3 separate regions of the Homo sapiens genome follow, and all the other regions are linked to region 2. Evidence: promoter capture Hi-C in 16 types of primary human blood cells and fetal thymus (Javierre and others, 2016). All regions are on one chromosome and are shown on one strand. Each heading gives the region's core, a stretch centred on a gene start or on the middle of the fragment in contact. The rest is flanking DNA. Distances are from core to core; before and after follow the strand shown. Region 1 overlaps THAP4 (THAP domain containing 4). Region 2 holds the start of PASK (PAS domain containing serine/threonine kinase). Region 3 overlaps ATG4B (autophagy related 4B cysteine peptidase).

Region 1 (3,337 bases), core at 72-2,571, 450 kb before region 2:
AACAAAATATAAAAAGCAAACCCTCCCTTAGTCTCCATTACACAACTATATGTTAAGAATCTTATTAAACCAACTTGGTACTATTTGTATAATGCCTAGCAGTTTCAGAACGGGGCTGGGCACCTGGCTCTCAGACCCCCAGCTCTGAGACCCTCCATCCCCTTTTAGAAGATCTCATTGTTTTTAAAAATATCTCCTACCTTTTTATATTATTATTGATTGAATGCATGAGGTCAAAGTAATACATCTGCACATAAACCAAAAGGTGAGAATTCTGGGTAATACAAAATAACCCAGAACCCAAGCAGTCTTTTTTAAACTATAGATTATAACCCACGAAAAGGTCAGAAAGTCAATTTTGTGACTAGCATTCGAAGAAAAATGAACCAGAGTGGAAAATATATTTCAGTAAATGTGATGGTATGTGTGTTTGTGTGTGTGTCCTAGAATATGGTATAAATGTATTTCTTTGTCGGGGTTATGTTAGTGAGCATGTACCATTCTAGAAGGTGTAGCACCATCACTAGCCCAACAGAAATTTATCTTGGCCCAGCGCGGTGGCTCGTGCCTGTAATCCCAGCACTTTGGGAGGCCAAGGCGGGTGGATCACTTGAGTCCAGGAGTCCAAGACCAGCCTGGGCAACACAGTGAGACCCTAAAAAAATTTGTTTTAATAAATAAATAAGTTTATCTTGGCCAGGTGCGGTGGCTGACGCCTGTAATCCCAGCACTTTGGGAGGTCAAGGCAGGTGGATCACTAGAAGTCAAGAGTTCGAGACCAGCCTGGCCAATGTGGTGAAATTGTGTCTCTACTAAAAAAAAATACAAAAATACAAAAATTAGCCGGGTGTGTGGCTGGGCACAGTGGCTCACACCTGTAATCCCAGCACTTTGAGAGGCTGAGGTGGGCAGATCACCTGAGGTTGGGAGTTCAAGATCAGCCTGACCAACATGGAGAAACCTGGTCTCTACTAAAATTACAAAATTAGCCGGGCATGGTGGCGCATGCCTGTAATCCCAGCTACTCGGTAAGGCTGAGGCAGGAGAATCGCTTGAACTCAGGAGGCGGAGGTTGCAGTGAGCCAAGATAGCGCCATTGCACTCCAGCCTGGGCAACAAGAGAGAAACTCTGTCTCAAAAAATAAATAAATAAATAAATAAATAAATTAGCCGGGTGTGGTGGGCGCCTGTAATCCCAGCTACTCAGGAGGCTGAGACAGGAGAATCATTTCAACCCAGGAAGCGGAGGTTTCACTGAGCTGAGACCGCGACGAGCCTGGGTGACAGAGCAAAAAAATAAATAAATAAAGTTTATCTCTAAGAATCATAGAGATGGATTCCCTATAGAAACTCATAAGGTTGGTGAAATGATAAATGAGGCTTTTTTTTTTTTGGTTTGGTTTTTTTGTTTTTATTTTTGTAGAAACAGGGTCTGTGTTGCCCAGCCCTGTCTCAAATTCCTAGGCTCAAGAGATCTACCCGACTGGGCCCCTGAAGTGCTGGGATTACGGCCTTGAGTCACCATGCCAGCGAGTTAGTTTTTAAGCCGTGGTTTTGTGCCCTCAGTTCAAGATGCAGGTGCCTGTCTTTTACTGTTGAGAATTTGCACTAATGATGAAGGGTGATAAGAAACCATACCATAACTCAGCACCTGTTCTGTTTTTTACCGTAGGAATTGATTAGATTCTTACACAAGAGCATAGCTCAAAAGAGAAAGATTGTGTTAGGGTGAGGTTTACTGCAAGGGAGTGCTGAGGGCTGACACTGTGTGAGGCCTGGGCTAACGGGCCCAGGGCAAGGATATGCCCTGAGGTGATTAAGAACAGTGCTGTCTTCAGGAGCTGAGGGTCAGCAGGCAAGACAGACACAGCCAAAATGAGCAAGGTGGTGGAGGGGGCGGGCAGGTGTGCGGGTGTGGCTGGAACAGCCCGTCTTCAGGAGCTGAGGGTCAGCAGGTAAGACAGACACAGCCAAAATGAGCAAGGCGCTGGAGGGGGCGGGCAGGTGTGCGGGTGTGGCTGGAACAGCCCGTCTTCAGGAGCTGAGGGTCAGCAGGCAAGACAGACACAGCCAAAATGAGCAAGGTGGTGGAGGGGGCGGGCAGGTGTGTGGGCGTGGCTGGAACAGCCCGTCTTCAGGAGTGGAGGGTCAGCAGGTAAGACAGACACAGCCAAAATGAGCAAGGTGGTGGTAGGGGCAGACAGGTGTGCGGGTGTGGCTGGAGCAGCCACCTGGAGGGCACCCTGGACAGTTCTGGCATCCACGCAGCCCACGCCATCTTGGAGGCCAGTGCCTGGGCTTCTCAACTCCAACTTCCCGTCCAGGTTCAACTCCTTCCACCCGGACACGCGCAAGCCGATGCACAGAGAGTGTGGCTTCATTCGCCTCAAGCCCGACACCAACAAGGTGGCCTTTGTCAGCGCCCAGAACACAGGTGAGGCCCAGCTTGCGGGGCGGGAGGGCTGGCCATGGGAGGCTGCTGCCTGCATTCGAAGCAGGGGTGCAGGGATGCCCATGTGCAACCCTGCTGAGGCATGTGCTGGTGGGGACCGTGGGGATGGCCCTGAGTGTTGAGAGTGGTCCTGGGAGCCTGCGGGGCCGACTGTGTAGCTGTAGGGGCCTCCGGCACACAGGTTGTGTGCGTGCAGCCCCCTGACCATGAGGGCCCGTTTACCCAGTGCCACGTCTGCAGAAATGGCCATCAGCTGTGTGCATTCATTAGGAATTGCTGGAAAACAGGTTGGGCACAGTGGCTCACGCCTGTAATCCCAGCACTTTGGGAGGCCTAGGTGGGCAGATCACTTGAGGTCAGGAGTTCAAGACCAGCCTGGCCAACATACTGAAATCCCGTCTCTACTAAAAATACAAAAATTAGCTGGGTGTGGTGGTGCATGCCTGTAATCCCAAGCCACTTGGGAGGCTGAGGCAGGAGAATCACTTGAACCTGGGAGGCAGAGGTTGCGGTGAGCCAAGAATGCGCCACTGCACTCCAGCCTGGGCAACAGAGCGAGATTCTGTCTCAAAAAAAAAAGAAAAAAAAAAAAACCAGCCTGCGTGACTCTAGATCAGTGTTTCTTCCTGGACGTCCATTCCCACCTGCGACTTCTGCCACTGTATGTGCTAGGGGTGGTTCTGCCAGGCTGATTGGTGGGTGGAGGTGGGAGGGCTGGGGCCCAGTCTGGAGAGGGTGGCCTTCCATAGAGCACCTGCCTGTTCTGTGAGGAGAGTTGTGGCTTTCCCTCCGTATCCACAGGGTGAAGTGGGGAGGAGGAGAAATATCGTTGCTTCCACAGCTGCAGAGTTGGGGCCTCCTGTGGAGTCCCGGCTTGCAGGCAAG
Region 2 (3,543 bases), core at 134-2,633:
GGGGCGAGGCTCCAACTGGACTGAATGGAGCCACCGCGTCCCATTCAGCCCCACCCCCGGCCTGGCCTCGCGCCGCCGCTCTCCCCCTAGCTCTGGGTCCTTCCCGGCCGCTGCCGCCCCCGGGCCGGGGCTCCCCCGAGGTCCAGCGCCTCCCCCGCTCCCCCGGGTCCGGCTGTCAGCTGTCAGGGGGCCGCGCGGCGGCGGCCAGAGGCAGGACGTGGAGTTTCTCTCAGGCACGGAGCAGTTCCAGCCCGCAGCTCCCCCCGCCCGCTGGGCCCTTGGGCCGCCGCCCGCAGGGGCCGCTCACCCTCCATCATCTCCTGCGACTGTTGCTGCCCCGCGCCGCGTTCCGCCGCCATGTTGGCTGCTCTTCCCCTTTCCGGAATCTGTCGCCTCAGACCCCTCAGCCAATCAGGGCTCCCGCCTCAGAGCCGGCCCTGCCAATGGGATTCCGGCGCGGCGACTTCAGCCGCGCCGCGCCTGCGTGGGCCCAGCGCCTCATGGGAGTTGTAGTTCCGTCATGAGGCCGCGCGCCGCGCCTCCCCCAGAGCAGGTAATTTCAGGCGGCGGAGCCGGAACAGTCTGGAGGCGAGAAGCTGGGAAGGAAAGCAGAGGGAGTCGAAGCGGGACGCACAGAGCCGTAGCTGCAGGCAGACGGAGTGGACGTCTAGGCAGAGTGGAGAGACGCCCTGGGCTTGAGAGTTGACTTATGTCACTGTCTCGACCTCGGAGGCGTGGAGGGGCCGCGGGCCAGGCGGATCTTTCCGTGGCTGCAAGGTGCGGGCCAGTCCTACGTGCATCCCTGACCTCTGCGAGCCTCGCTGGCTGCGTCTGTACAATGGGCCGAACGGCAAGAGCAACAACATTCTCCCGGCGTCCCCGCGCGGATTTTACCCATGCGAAATGCCGCCTTCTCTTGACGCTCGGAGCAGGCGGGCAGGTGCGGGGCACTTGCGCTGGTGGGGCCGCTAGCCAGCTGGCTGGCTCCGGGGCGCCAGCTGGGCTCCCCTTGCAAGTCGTTCCCAGCCCAGTGCGGACGCTGCAGCCTTCGTCTACCCTGCGGAGCCACCCGGCCCATGAACGAGCCGCCCCGCGTCCTCCGCCTTCAGAAAGAGGCCTCCAAGAGGCGAGCTCTGCGCTACTCACCCATTTTGATCGCGAGTCGGGAGGAAACCGCATCTGCCCGGCCCGGGGGCGGAGGCGCCCATTATTCCTTTGGCTCCTCCGAAGCGCCGTAGGGGTGTTTGGTGCGTCCCTAGCAACCCTTAGCGCGGGCTTCTAGACTCTGGCTAGCTTAGTCCCGCCCATACGCGCAAGTGGCTGGTCCGTGGAGCTTGTCAATCGGTGCTAGTCGCTGTGCGATTGGTCGGTGGGATAAAAGCGCGGAAGGGCTCCTTTCCGTGGTGTGTAGCCGGCTTGGCGTGACCCTCGCCTGATCCAGGTGAGATACCTGCGCTCGGGAGAGCGGGCCGGGCTCCGCCATCTCCCCAGGGCGGCTGTGGGGCCTGCGCGGCTCCGCGCCCCTGGCCCAGGAGGATCCGCCGCCCGACTCTTAGACCAGCCCGACCCCGGGTCTCCCGCCCCTGCGCCCGTCGCCCTTCGCGCACCGCCGAGCCCGCGTCCTCTCCGTGCCCAAATCGCGGCGGGGTTGCGGCCGTTGGCCCTGGGCCCCGCGCCCCCAGCGTCTTCGGGGTGCCCTTCAGTGTAGCCTGCCCGGTGGGCGCCGAGGCCCCGCGCCTCGGGTCGCCTCGGGACCCTGCGCTCTCTTCACCGCAGCCGGCCCTGCGGGGCGAGCTCCAGGAGAACCAGCCCGGATCCCGCCAGCCTCCTGCACTGGGCGTGTGGGTCCCTGCGGGCTCAGCCGGCGCCGCGGGGTCGGGGGCGCGCGCCGCCGGCGCTCGTGGTTACAGCAAAGACCTGGACTTGAGCCTTAATTTTTTCACTAATTTTTCTTTCCCAGAGTACGGCAGGGGCCTGCGCTGCCGTCTTGAGGCCTTTCTCGTCCTTACCTTCCGCATCTCAGTACCATTCGATGTCCATTTTTCTCTTAGGGGTTCCCTCTCTTCATCTTTCTGCTGCTACCTTAATTTAAGACTTTATAATTTCTTGCCTGGATTACTGTAGCCTTTCTCCTGCTTTCCAGCCTTGCACCGACATGGTCCCTGGAGTAATCTTTGTAAAATGCATATCTGGCCATGTTACTCCTAAGCATTGAATCCTTAAAAGTTCATTTTGGGGATAAAATTAAGACTTTGGGCAGGCATAGGAGGCTCTGGGCTCATGCTTGGCCCTTCCAGGCCCACGTCCACCTACTCTTCTGGGTACTGAACTCCTCTCTGGGAGGCTTTGCCTCTGAAAGACTTCTTCACTCTGCTTGGTAGGGCCCGGCTCTGCAGGTGCCTCCTCCAGGACTGACATCCTTGCTGTGTTCTACTGCACTGTTCACCTTGTTGGCCTCATCCTGAAACTGGTTCTCCTTTTTGTTGTACAGCTGTGCTGACAGCAATGGGAGCTGTTTGCTTCTTAGCTTATGTTCTGGTGGGAGGGGGACAGTTGCTTCTAGAAGTTCGCCGAGATGCTCCCTGCAAAGTTGTCCTTGCTTCTGTTTGGTCTGAGGTGGGGTCACTTGTGTCTTCTGGAATCAAAACTAGCAATGGGAATATGGTTACTCGGTGGCACCATTAGGTGCTGTCTGCTGGGTTTGGGTTCCCGTGTCTGCAGCTCACAGTGGATACAAAGGACAATTTTAAAAATTTGGGCCTGGACGTGCAGGTATTTCTGGTTAACGTCTGAGTCAAAATTTAGTGATCTAAGGTCATGTGAAGCCAGACTCTGTTCTTTCTTGAGGCCAGGCTGTGGCTGTGGAGTGCACGGGAGGCTCCAGGGGCCTATGCTGTTCAGTGACAAACTGGCCCACGTGGACTTCAGATGCCCAGGAGGCACAGCGGGAAAAAGGATGCATCTTTCCTGCTGTCCTCCCCGCTCCCGCAGAGGGTCCCATCAGTTTCCCTCCTGGATAGGCTTGTAACTCTCAGTAACCTAATTAAACTTCCACAACTTTAGTTGGTATTTATTTACTTTCTCCCATGAAGGACAAAAAATTGCATGCCCTTACCCTCCCTTTGCTTTTTTTCCCCCTTTCCATTTCATGTTAGTTACTTTTACAAAGAAACTTCTGTAACATTTACAATATATTCTGAATAGTTATATTACTTTTTTATTATTTTATTTTTTGAGACAGGGTCTTGCTCTGTGGCCCAGGCTGGAGTGCAGTGGTGCTGTGTCCTCTCACTGCAGCCTCCGCCTCCTGGGCTGAAGCGATTCTCCCACCTCAACCTCCCAAGCAGCTGGGACTACCAGCATGTGCCACCACACCTTGCTAATTTTTAATTTTTTTTTTGTAGAGATGGGGTCTCCCTATGTTGCCCAGGCTGATCTCGAACTCCTGGGCTCAAGTAATCTGCCTGGCCTCCCAAAGTACTGGGTATATGACTTTTTAAAATAGTTTTGTAACATTGACATTGCAGTCTGAAGAGTTATATT
Region 3 (3,518 bases), core at 418-2,917, 490 kb before region 2:
GACATGTAAGGCCAGGTGCCGTGGCTCATGCCTGTAATCCCAGCACTTTAAGAAGCCAAGATGGGAGGATCACTTGAGCCCAGGAGTTTGAGACCAGCCTGGGCAATACAGGGAGACCCTGTCTCTCTTAAAAAAAAAAAAAAAAAAAAAATAGCTAGGCGTGGACATCTGTAGTCTTAGCTACTGAGGAATGTGAGGCAAGAAGATCACTTGAGCCCAGGAGGTCAAGGCTGCAATGAGCTGAGGCCGCAACACCATACTCCAGTCTGAGCGATGAAGTGAGACCCTGCCTCAAAAAAAGATGACACGCAGGAGGAACAAGATGAAGAAGTAGGTTGGGTGTGGTGGTTCACCTGTAATCCCAGCACTTTGGGAGGCCGAGGCGGGCAGATCACTTGAGGTCAGAAGTTCGAGAACAGCCTGGCCAACATGGTGAAACCCCATCTCTACTAAAAATATAAAAAAGTTAGCCAGGCATGGTGGTGCACACCTGTAATCCCAGCTACTCGGGAGGCTGAGGCAGGAGAATCTCTTGAACCCAGGAGGCGAAGGCTGCAGTGAGCTGAGATAGAGCCACTGCACTCCAGCCAGTCTGGGCGACAGTGAGACTCCGTCTTAAAAAAAAAAAAAAAAAAAAAAAAAAGGACGGAGAGGTGCTGTACACCTTAAGAAAGAGTCCCCCTTAGAAGCAGTTCTCCCATTTGGTCGGCTGGATCCCAGACACTTGATTTTCCACGCCCTCTTCCCTGGGACTTCTGCGATCACAAGCAGAAGAGGGCAGATGGCATTTTAATAATATAGTAATTCCATCAGAAAAAACATGTGACTTAGTACTACTAATCTGACAGGCAGAAATGTAGGGAATTGTACTCAATGAATTTAACCAACTTCTCTCCATTTAGTACCAATTACACTTCATTCAACCAGAGAGGACTACAAAAAAAAACGAGTAAATTTAAGAGCTTACTGTAAACCACTTCATTTCGAAGAAACCTTCCTAAAACACTTAGAAGTTATTTTCCAAAAGATTTATATTTTATAAATTCAACAAAGGTTCTTCTTTTCCTTTAGAAAGCTCTTAGGTTTAAGATAACAGTTTGCATATGATTACTACTTTTTTTTAAATCTCCAAGAGTTTACATGAGAATGCTAGTAGTTCAGTCCTGAATGAAAACAGAGAAAGAGAGAAAGGAACTCCAAATTTAGCTACATCAGAAAGCTAGAAAACACTGTTTCAGTGCACACACTGGGCAGATTGCGCACATTAAAACCCACTCCCCTAGATCGCGCCCACCGCACTCCAGCCTGGGAAACAGAGCAAGACTCCATCTCAAGAAAAAAAAAAAAACCACTCCCCAGCAGCCTCTGCATTCATTACATGTTATGCTAACATACTGGATTTATGTTAAACTCTACAAACTGAAAGCTTTGATAGTAGGGGAATGTGTAGGTTATTATTAATTCAAGTTCTGTTTTTTTTTTATTACCAACCACATGCCAGACACAAGTGATGCACTAGAAATGCAAGCACAAGACACCAGCTCTGTCCTCAAGGAATGGGCAGTGTGGCTATTTAAGTGCTGGCACCTGCCAGTCGTCTGAATGGGGAGCATGCTTTTAGGGACAGTGCTAGGGACTGGTGGAGAACACAGCCACACTGTGGTCTGCCTGCCACCTCCTGGACCTCTCCACACCCGCAGAGGCCTTTGGCCTCTTTTCTTTCCCACCCACATTCACACCCTGGGTGACCTCATCTGATGTGACCTCCAGTCTATCTCCAGCCCAGGCTTATTCTTTTAGCTCCAAACCTGTAGACCCAAAAGCCCACTGGACACTGCTCTACAAGGATGTCTAACATCCACCTCACATTCAACACACATAAATCCAAACTCGCAACAGAAAGCTTCCCACCAGACAGGACCTCCCCAAGTCTTCCCCATCTGAGTTTCTTTTTTTTTTTTTTTTTGAGACAGAGTCTCGCTCTGTCGCCCAGGCTGGAGTGCAGTGGCGCAGTCTTGGCTCACTGCAAGCTCCGCCTCCCGGGTTCACGCCATTCTCCTGCCTCAGCCTCCTGCGTAGCTGGGATCACAGGCGCCCGCCACTATGCCCGGCTAATTTTTTGTATTTTTAGTAGCGACGGGGTTTCACCGTGTTAGCCAGGATGGTCTCGATCTCCTGACCTTGTGATCCGCCCACCTCGGCCTCTCAAAGTGCTGGGATTACAGGCGTGAGCCACCACGCCCGCCCCCCTCCATCTGAGTTGCTTAGCTCAGGCCATACACTATGGGGCCATCTTTAACTCCTCCCTCTCTACCCATCCCTCTCCCAACTTCCAATCTACAAACAAATTCTATTGTCTCAACCTCCAAAACACATGCAGAAGTCAACCTCTTACCCACCCTGAGCTAATCCACTGGCATCTCCTTGCTGGCTTGTTCAACAGTCTCTTAGCTGGTCTCGCTGCCTCTGCCCTTGCCCCTCTGCAGTACATTCTCAAAAGAGATGCCAGAGCAAGCCTGTTGAACACAGTCTATCATGTGACTCCTCCTCTAGAATGAAACCTTCCAAACGGCTGCCATCCTGTTCAGAATAAACACTGAGTCCTCACTATGAGCTGCCATCCTGTTCAGAATAAACACCGAGTCCTCACTATGAGCTGGCAAGGCCCCACTACACTGAGCCTAAGTCACCTTTCTATCCTCAGCTCCTGCTTCTCCCACCGCCACCCGCTGCACCTGAGCCACACCAGGCTCTTGCTACCTGCCCTTCCTCCTACACTGCTTTAAGTCTTCGTCAAAACTTAAACCTTCAGAGTGAGACCCTTCCTGGCCATCCTGGCTACAATTCCAATCCTCCTCATCCTTGGCCCAAATCACCATCCCCCAGGAGCCACGCACTTCGCTGCTAATGCTGGTCTCATGTCTAGAACGTTAGCTACCCCAGGGCAATGGTTTTCATCTATGTTGTTACTTCTCTAGTCCTAGTGTCTAGAACAATGCCTAACACATATCTGACAGTCAGTAACAAACAGTGTATTGAATTAATGACTATCAGAACAGAAACTGTATTACACATGGTCAAGGAAGGCAGAATCTTCAAGAACTCTAGAGATCAAAGGAGGGCAGATCATTAATCATCTCTGAAAGGAAATACAGCATCAAGTCAGAAGGAAAATTCCCCATGATATCCTACAAACATCATATACGTTTTTATCAGCATAAACAGAGACCTTTAAATGCAAACACCTTTTCTACTCTGATCCCACATGCAGCAACATCCAGTGTCCTATTAAAGTATCACCATGTCAACACAGTTGTCAAGGGAAAATAAAAGATAAAATAAAGTATCGCCATGTAACAACATAACTGTTCTCCCAACTTGAACATGATGATTTTCACATTTTAGGTCATATGATCGACACTGAACCGTGTTTTTGACCTTAGCCAAGTCTCTCATATGATACTCCAGCCTCAAGGTATCGAAATGATAGAGGCAGGAGGCAGACAAATCCTAGGCAG

The links. The method cuts DNA at HindIII sites, captures the fragments that hold promoters and counts their contacts. A CHiCAGO score of 5 or more calls a contact.
Region 1: a contact is called between a fragment that was not itself captured here and the fragment with the promoter of PASK in region 2, in 1 of 17 cell types (total B cells). The highest score is 5.4, in total B cells.
Region 3: a fragment that was not itself captured here is called in contact with the fragment with the promoter of PASK in region 2 in 1 of 17 cell types (neutrophils); the score reaches 9.1 in neutrophils.

What each region holds. Positions count from the first base shown.
Region 1 is chr2:241,602,067-241,605,403 of GRCh38, reverse strand. It overlaps THAP4 (THAP domain containing 4), which reads left to right. Exons shown (of 6, transcript NM_015963.6): 4 at 2,325-2,434. Among named protein-coding and RNA genes, the nearest start is that of THAP4, 33 kb to the left of the region's middle. The HindIII fragment of the contact is 8,965 bases long and covers 1-3,337 here.
Region 2 is chr2:241,147,312-241,150,854 of GRCh38, reverse strand. PASK (PAS domain containing serine/threonine kinase) reads left to right here and starts at 1,383. Exons shown (of 18, transcript NM_015148.4): 1 at 1,383-1,441. PPP1R7 (protein phosphatase 1 regulatory subunit 7) reads right to left here and starts at 388. Exons shown (of 10, transcript NM_002712.3): 1 at 308-388. The coding sequence starts at 359. RefSeq lists silencers at 1-306, 1,437-1,796, 1,857-1,916, 1,967-2,016 and enhancers at 597-756, 2,270-2,429. The HindIII fragment of the contact is 12,026 bases long and covers 1-3,543 here.
Region 3 is chr2:241,639,998-241,643,515 of GRCh38, reverse strand. All of the region lies in intron 1 of ATG4B (autophagy related 4B cysteine peptidase), which reads right to left. Among named protein-coding and RNA genes, the nearest start is that of ATG4B, 4.1 kb to the right of the region's middle. The HindIII fragment of the contact is 477 bases long and covers 1,429-1,905 here.